Linked DNA regions of Homo sapiens: all the other regions are linked to region 3. The links are contacts of gene promoters, found by promoter capture Hi-C in human tissues and cell types (Jung and others, 2019). All regions are on one chromosome and are shown on one strand. Each heading gives the region's core, a stretch centred on a gene start or on the middle of the fragment in contact. The rest is flanking DNA. Distances are from core to core; before and after follow the strand shown. Region 1 holds the start of SPACA4 (sperm acrosome associated 4). Region 2 overlaps PPP5C-AS1 (PPP5C antisense RNA 1). Region 3 holds the start of SLC8A2 (solute carrier family 8 member A2).

The links. Contacts are between HindIII fragments. The study calls those that stand out against the background at their distance.
Region 1: the fragment with the promoter of SPACA4 here is called in contact with the fragment with the promoter of SLC8A2 in region 3 in 1 of the 25 tissues and cell types used here (dorsolateral prefrontal cortex).
Region 2: a fragment that was not itself captured here is called in contact with the fragment with the promoter of SLC8A2 in region 3 in 1 of the 25 tissues and cell types used here (psoas muscle).

The regions. Positions count from the first base shown.
Region 1 is chr19:48,605,387-48,608,086 of GRCh38, forward strand. SPACA4 (sperm acrosome associated 4) reads left to right here and starts at 1,356. Exons shown (of 1, transcript NM_133498.3): 1 at 1,356-2,328. The coding sequence starts at 1,593. The coding sequence ends at 1,967. All of the region lies in intron 5 of FAM83E (family with sequence similarity 83 member E), which reads right to left. The HindIII fragment of the contact is 21,490 bases long and covers 1-2,700 here.
Region 2 is chr19:46,399,255-46,401,954 of GRCh38, forward strand. The region is part of intron 1 of PPP5C-AS1 (PPP5C antisense RNA 1); the gene reads right to left. Among named protein-coding and RNA genes, the nearest start is that of PPP5C-AS1, 3.6 kb to the right of the region's middle. The HindIII fragment of the contact is 5,392 bases long and covers 1-2,700 here.
Region 3 is chr19:47,470,606-47,473,305 of GRCh38, forward strand. SLC8A2 (solute carrier family 8 member A2) reads right to left here and starts at 1,288. Exons shown (of 10, transcript NM_015063.3): 1 at 1,184-1,288. The HindIII fragment of the contact is 16,110 bases long and covers 1-2,700 here.

The DNA.
Region 1 (2,700 bases), core at 106-2,605, 1.1 Mb after region 3:
ACATAGCAAGACCCCATCTCTATAAAAAATTTTACAAAATTAGCCGGGCATGGTGGTGCACGCCTATAGTCCCAGCTACTCTGGAGGCTCAGGGAGGAGAATCACTTGAGCCTGGGAAGTTGAGGCTGCAGTGAGCCAAGATCGCGCCACTGCACTCCAGTCTAGGCAACAGAGCAAGATCCTATTTTTTTTTTTTTTTGAGATGGAGTCTTGCTCTATTGCCTAGGCTCAAGTGCAGTGGCACAATATTGGCTCACTGCAACCTCCACCTCCCAGGTTCAAGCCTCCCAAGTAGCTGGGATTACAGGTGCACACCACCATGCCCAGCAAATTTTTGTATTTTTAGTAGAGATGGGGTTTTACCACGTTGGCCATGCTGGTCTTGAACTCCTGAGCTCAGGTGATCCACCCGCCTCGGCCTCCCAAAGTGCTGGGATTACAGGCGTGAGCCACTGCGCCCGGCCAATTTTTTAAAATAAAAAATAAAATTAAGAAATAAATACAACATAGGAATATTCAAATGACTGAATTTGAATCAAGCCCCCTGCACGTAGCTGGCCCTGAGAGCCTGTGAGCTGTGGGGGCCGGTGCCCTAACACTTCCTGTCATCACAGTAGTTGTTATTGAAAGCACCAAGTGCCAGGCGTGGTGTGGTGGCTCACGTCTGTAATCCCAGCACTTTGGGAGGTCGAGGCGGGCAGATCACTTGAGCTCAAGAGTTCGCAACCAGCCTGGCCTACATGGTGAAACCCTGTCTCTACTAAAAATACAAAAATTAGCCAGATGTGGTTGCATGCGCCTGCAGTCCCAGCCACTCGGGAGGCTGAGTTACGAGAATCGCTTGAAGCTGGGAAGCAGAAGCTGCAGTGAGCTGAGATCACGCCACTGCACTCCAGCCTGGGTGACAGAGTGAGAGACTCCGTCTCAAAAAAATAAAAGCAAGCAAGCACTGAGCATGAATCCTGGCACACAGCAAGTGCTCAGTTAATACACCCTCTTCTTTCCCAGCCTCTTTGGAATTCAATGAACCTGGCTCTCATCCTGGCTCGGGGACCCTGGATACATCACTTTCCCCAGCCTTAGTTTACCCATCTGGAATATGGGGTCACTATGGGAGGTGTGAGGCTGAAGTCAAGCCCTTGGCGGGTGTACAGCACAGAGAATGCGGACAAGCTTGTGGCCAGCGTCCTCTGGGTTCAGGGCGTCTTCACCTTGGCAGGGATGGCAGAGCCCTCTTGCGCCCCGGCAGGTCGGCGGGGCAGGCCACCCCTTGGATTGTGACACCCACTCCTCTCACCTATGACCTCATCCCCAGAGCGGCCAGTGGGAACCCTGAGGGATCTGTGAGATCACTCATTCCATTCACAGACTCTTGTTGGGCAGCAGCCACCCGCTCACCTCCATCCCCAGGACTTAGAGGGACGCAGGGCGTTGGGAACAGAGGACACTCCAGGCGCTGACCCTGGGAGGCCAGGACCAGGGCCAAAGTCCCGTGGGCAAGAGGAGTCCTCAGAGGTCCTTCATTCAGCGGTTCCGGGAGGTCTGGGAAGCCCACGGCCTGGCTGGGGCAGGGTCAACGCCGCCAGGCCGCCATGGTCCTGTGCTGGCTGCTGCTTCTGGTGATGGCTCTGCCCCCAGGCACGACGGGCGTCAAGGACTGCGTCTTCTGTGAGCTCACCGACTCCATGCAGTGTCCTGGTACCTACATGCACTGTGGCGATGACGAGGACTGCTTCACAGGCCACGGGGTCGCCCCGGGCACTGGTCCGGTCATCAACAAAGGCTGCCTGCGAGCCACCAGCTGCGGCCTTGAGGAACCCGTCAGCTACAGGGGCGTCACCTACAGCCTCACCACCAACTGCTGCACCGGCCGCCTGTGTAACAGAGCCCCGAGCAGCCAGACAGTGGGGGCCACCACCAGCCTGGCACTGGGGCTGGGTATGCTGCTTCCTCCACGTTTGCTGTGACCAACAGGGAGGACAGGGCCTGGGACTGTTCTCCCAGATCCGCCACTCCCCATGTCCCCATGTCCTTCCCCCACTAAATGGCCAGAGAGGCCCTGGACAACCTCTTGCGGCCCTGGCTTCATCCCTTCTAAGGCTGTCCACCAGGAGCCCGGTGCTAGGGGAAGCATCCCCAGGCCTGACTGAGCGGCAGGGGAGCACGGCCCGTGGGTTTGATTGTATTACTCTGTTCCACTGGTTCTAAGACGCAGAGCTTCTCACATCTCAATCAGGATGCTTCTCTCCATTGGTAGCACTTTAGAGTCCATGAAATATGGTAAAAAATATATATATATCATAATAAATGACAGCTGATGTTCATGGAGCATTCTTTGTTTTCTTTTCTTTTTCTTTTCCTTTTTTTTTTTTTCTTTTTGTAGAGATAAGGTCCAGCTATGTTGCCCAGGGTGGTCTCGGATTCTTGGGCTCAAGTGATCCTCCCACCTCAGCCTCCCAAAGTGCTGGGATTACAGGTATGAGCCACGGCACCTGGCCAAGCCTGTCTTACGTTACGTGCCACTGAATCCTCACACCAAGCTGGGAAGGTAAACACTCTTTCAAACATTTCAAACATCCTGGTCTCAACTCCAATCATTCTCAAAGTGTGGTCCCTGGACCAGAAACAGCAGCAGCAGCAAGTGGGAACTTCCTGAAAATGCAGATTCTCAGGTCCTGTTCCAGGCACGATGAATGGCAG
Region 2 (2,700 bases), core at 180-2,679, 1.1 Mb before region 3:
CTCCCGAGTAGCTGGGATTACAGGCGTGCGCCACCGCGCCTGGCCCCAACCTGCATTTTCATTGGTTGCAGGGATAAAAGGCAAGTCCCACCAGAAAATCAATGCCAACCAGGAACTGAGGGTGGCGGTGTTCAGTCTGTTCCCAGGGTTTTGAGAACTGGTGCAGTGCCTAACAAGCACACACGTTCCCCTTAGTAAGGAAATACGGTTAAGAATGAAGTAAAAAAAAAATTGTTTTCTTTCAATTTATGTGTCTATATATTTTCATTTTTTATGTTAATAAAGACAAGGTCTCGCTATGTTGCCCAGGCTGATCTCAAACTCCTTAGCTCTACATATTTTCAAATGGCTACTAACTTCTTAGGACATAAGAGCTTAGGTTGTTTAGACCTCACCAGATGAGAATGGAACTGTTAGGTATTTCTTTGGGGGCGCTATGGAAAAAATGACTGAATTACTAAGGTCTGGTGCACCAAGCAAGTCCAGAGCCACCTGCACCAGGGCACAGGGGTTGAGAGCCTGGGCTCTGGAGTCAGAAGACCTAGGTTTGCCACCTCACTTTGCCATCCTTGGGCATTGTGCGACCTCTGCGCCTGTAAAACGGGAATAGTTAACAGTTGTGGGATTAGTGACAAAGCCCATAGAAAACATTCAGACAGGCCGGGCGTGGTGGCGGGCGCCTGTAGTCCCAGCTACTCGGGAGGCTGAGGCAGGAGAATGGCGTGAACCCGGGAGGCGGAGCTTGCAGTGAGCCGAGATCGTGCCACTGCACTCCAGCCTGGGCGACAGAGCGAGACTCCCTCTCAAAAACAAACGAACAAAAACATTCAGACAATCCCTGGCATGTCTTAGCAGGCGATAAATGTTAGTTTTATAAATTTATTTATTTAACCAAAATGGACTCATTCTACATATGTATTTCTATCATTTTTTTCCTTATTATTATCTGGACATTTTTTTCTAGGCAGGCCTGTAAGGATCTTTCTTTCTTTCTCTTGCCTTCCTTCTTTTTTTTCTTTTTTCTTTTTTTTTTTTTTTTTTTTTTTTGAGACAGGGTCTTGCTCTGTCACTCGGGTTGGAGTGCAGTAGCACGATCTCAGCTAACTGCAGCCTCCATCTCCTGGGCTCAAGCTATCTCCTCCCACCTCAGCCTCCTGAATAGCTGGGAACACATGCCACCACGCCCGACTAATTTTTTGTAGAGACAGGGTTTCACCATGTTGCCCAGTCTTTTCTCACTCCTGAGCTCAAGCCATCCTCCTGCCTCAGCCTCCCAAAGTGCTGGAATTATAGGCATGAGCCACTGCGCCTGGGCAACTGTTCTTTCTAATAGCCCCCTAGTCTGCATCCTTCAGGGACTTCTTAAAGTAAAAACGTCCAGCCAGGCGCAGTGGCTCACGCCTGTAATCCCAGCACTTTGGGAGGCCGAGGTGGGTGGATCACGAGGTCAGGAGATCAAGACCACCCTGGCCAATATGGTGAAACCCCGTCTCTACTAAAAATACAAAAATTAGCCGGGCATGGTGACACGTGCCTGTAATCTCAGCTACTCGGAGGCTGAGGCAAGAGAATCACTGGAACCAGGGAGCTGGAGGTTGCAGTGAGCTGAGATTGCACCACTGCACTCCAACCTGGTGACAGAGCGAGACTCCGTCTCAAAAAAAAAAAAAAAAAAAGAAAAAAGAACTCCAAGACTTCAAGGTTCCCCTGAAGCTTGGATGCAAACGTAAAGCCTGACCTATCCTCATTGATAAATAGGCCCTTATTCTCCCTTCCCTTCCATTACTTCCCTCCTTCTCATAGGAAGGCATTCCATTTCTTCATCCTGCCATTTGAGGCCTCTGCCTCTGTGTCCTGCCCTGGCTAAGGCCCCTGCCTCTGTCTCCACCATGCCTTGTGACCCTGGAGAGGTCCCTCAATTCCTTAAGCCACAGGTTCCTCATCTATATAATGGGGATGATAATAATAGAAGCTGCATCCCTGGGCTGCTGTGAGAATTACAGAGTTCAACCCCCAAGGCTATGACGAATCTGCCCGTAGTAAAGAGTGAGGCTGGGGGCGGTGGCTCACCCCTGTAATCCCAGCACTTTGGGAGGCCAAGGCAGGTGGATCACTTGAGATCAGGAGTTCAAGACCAGCCAGGCCAACATGGTGAAACCCCGTCTCTACTAAAAATACAAAAATTAGCCAGGTGTGGTGGCAGGAGCCTGTAATCCCAGCCATTAGGGAGGCCGAGGGCAGAAGAATCGCTTGAGCCCGGGAGGCAAAGGTTGCAGTGAACCGAGATCGCTTCACTGCCCTCCAGCCTGGGTGACAAAGCGAGACTCCTTCTCAAAAACAAACAAACAAAAAACCAAACTGTTCCCCTGAACTTGTTTTTTTGTGGCAGCGGGTGGCAGCTGGGCCTGTCAGATAGAGGCTGATTTGGAATCAAGACATCGGTCTTTTGGGGCAACCGTTCAGATTCTGTGAGTTTGAAACCACAAATGCCAAAGTTTAAATTGGGAGACTGGACCCTGCAGGCACTATTTAAATCCCTTTTTGTGTTACAAATAGTGAACCCCCCCTGCTGCCATCTGCAGGCCACTAAAGTGTCCATTCCACATCTGAGTCCTGGGCGATTCTGAAGTGGGATCCCGAGGACAGAGATACTAATAAGTTGGCTCACGCCTGTAATCGCAGCACTTTGGGAGGCCGAGG
Region 3 (2,700 bases), core at 38-2,537:
CCAGAGCAGGAAAGGCGCTCAGTAATTATCAACAAGAATGAATGAATCAAGAGCTGGACAAACAGCAAGAGGTATGGAAGTGAGACGGCAGGAAGGACTGGTCCAGTTACACGAGGAAGACTGGGGAGGTTAGATTGAAGGGAGGTCTGGTCTCATCTCTACTACAGAGGCTACCGGTTAAACTGCAAGAAGGACCGGCCTCAGAACGCCAGAAACAAGGCAGGGGGAGGTGGGCTCGGTCCTCAGGGGAGAGCTGGGGTGGGTGCCGGCTGGGAGGAGTGGAGAGAGCAGGGGAGCTCTGCTGAAGTGGGGAGAGGAGTTTAGAGGACTCCAGGCCTGGGGGAGCCCACTCTGCGGGTGGGGGGGTCTAATTCCTCCAGGTCCCCCCTGCCAGGGGCGGAGACAAAGGTGTGTGGGAGGAGGGTGCACTGGCTCCCAGGGAGAGCCAGAGAAGAGGAAAGAGAGAGAGAAACAGAGACTGAGATATCCAGAGACAGAGATGGAGACGAGGGGGAGATGGGGAGGGAGGGAGAGAGAGAGAGAGAGAGAGAGACATGCGGACATGGGAAGAGACAGAGACACAGAGAAAGCAGAGACAGAGAGAGACACAGGAAAGCTGAGACAAGGGAGAGAGGCAGAGACACAGAGACACAGAGAAACAGAGATGGCGCAAGAGGAAAGGAGAGAGAAACCCAGGACTTAGAGACAGAGCCCCAGAGAGACTCCGAACAGACCCCGGCACAGAGACACAGAGAGAGGGAGACAGGAGTGAGAGACTGAGAGACAGGGACTCCCAGAGGCGGCCAGACTCTGCTAGACAGAGACCCCTGAGACATGTGGAGAGACAGAAAGATGAGACCCAGACACAGGAAGGCGGGGGCAGAGGTAGAGAGCGCGAGGGGGGGTGCCCCAGACGGGGTGGGGGCGGGGTGTCCTCGCCCCCCAGTACCCAGGCGGTCCCCCTCCCCAGCCGCCCGAGAACCAGGAGGGACTGAAGGTGTTGGGGCGGCTGGTGGCACTCCCACCCCACAGAAGGTACGCGTGCTGGGCCAGGCAGCCCCCCACCTCCATAAACCAGCCCAGGGAAGCCAGCTCCAGGCTTCCCGAACCGCCCCCACTCCGCACCTGGGGTAACCCCGTCCTTTTCCCACGCCCCCACCTCCCCACCAATGGGGTCTCTTACCTGCGGCTACAGCCTGGAGCAGGTCCCCCCAGCGCTGGGCTGGCAGTGGTGGGCGACTCCGCCCGAAAGAGAGAGAGAGATTGAGAGAGAGAAAAGCCTGAGACTGAGAGGGAGAGCCGGGGAGGAGGGGAGGGAGAGGGGATAGAGGGAGGAGAAGAGGAGAGGGGAGGGACACGGGGGAGGGGGAGGCGGCGAGGGAGCGAGGGAGGGGGAGGAGCCGGAGAGAGGGGGAGGAGGCGGAGGCGGGCAGAGGGAAGGCGGTGCGGGAGGCGGGGGGAGGCCCGGGGAGGGGCCTGGGGGAGCAGGGAGCCCGAGCCTCCTCCCCAGCCTCCGGGTTCAGCACCAGAGGCAGGGGACAGCACCGGAGGGCGCTCCTGTGTGTTTCAGAAGCAGCCCCCGCCCCCCAACACACACACACACACACGCACACACACACACGCACGCAGTCTCCCAGCCATACAAGGGCCAACAGCTACAAATAGTTACAGACTTACAGAACTAGGGGGAGGGCAAGAATGTTTAGCTGGAGTCAGATCCAAATTCACATACTGTGCCTGCACAGCCTCACAAAGGAGGCCAGAAACAACCACAAAGACACCCATTAATAAGAATAACAACAGCTGCCATACATACAGGCAGCCCTGACCACGTGCCTGGCATCGGCAGCACATTATTATTATTTGAGACAGGGTCTCACTCTGTCACCCAGGCTGGAGTGCAGTGGCACGATCTTGGCTTACTGCAGCCTCAACCTCCTGGGCTCAAGCAATCCTCCTGCCTCAGCCTCCTGAGTAGCTGGGACTACAGGTGCCCGCCACCACCACGCCAGGCTTTTTCCCTCCATTTTTTTTTTTTAGGAGATGGGATCTCACCATGTTACCCAGGCTGGTCTCCAACTCCTGGGCTCAAGCGATCCTTCTGCCTTGGCCTCCCGAGTAGCTGGGACTACAGGTGCCCACCACCACCACGCCAGGCTTTTTTTCTCTTCATTTTTTTTAAGAGACGGGGTCTCACTATTTTACCTAGGCTAGTCTCCAACTCCCGGGCTTAAGCAATCCTTCTGCCTCGGCCTCCCAAAGCGCTGAGATTACAGGTGAGAGCCACCGCACAGGTGAGAGCCACCGCACCTGGCATGTTCTAATGTTTTTTATAAATTTAGGTAAATGCTATTATGAGCTTCACTTACAGACAGGGAAACCAAGGCATGAGGTGGTAAATATGGCTCCAGATTCTACACCCTTAACTGCTGCACCGCACAATTCCCCAGGCTGAGGACGGGTCAGGTCAAGAAGAGACTTGCAGGCTGGGTGCGGTGGCTCACGCCTGTAATCCCAGCACTTTAGGAGGCTGAGGCGAGCAGATCACTTGACGTCAGGAGTTGGAGACCAGCCTGGCCAACATGGCGAAACCCTGTCTCTTCTAAAAATACAAAAATTAGCCAGGCCAGGTGGCACACGCCTGTAATCCCAGCTACTTGGGAGGCTGAGGCAGGAGAAATCGCTTGAACCTGGGAGGTG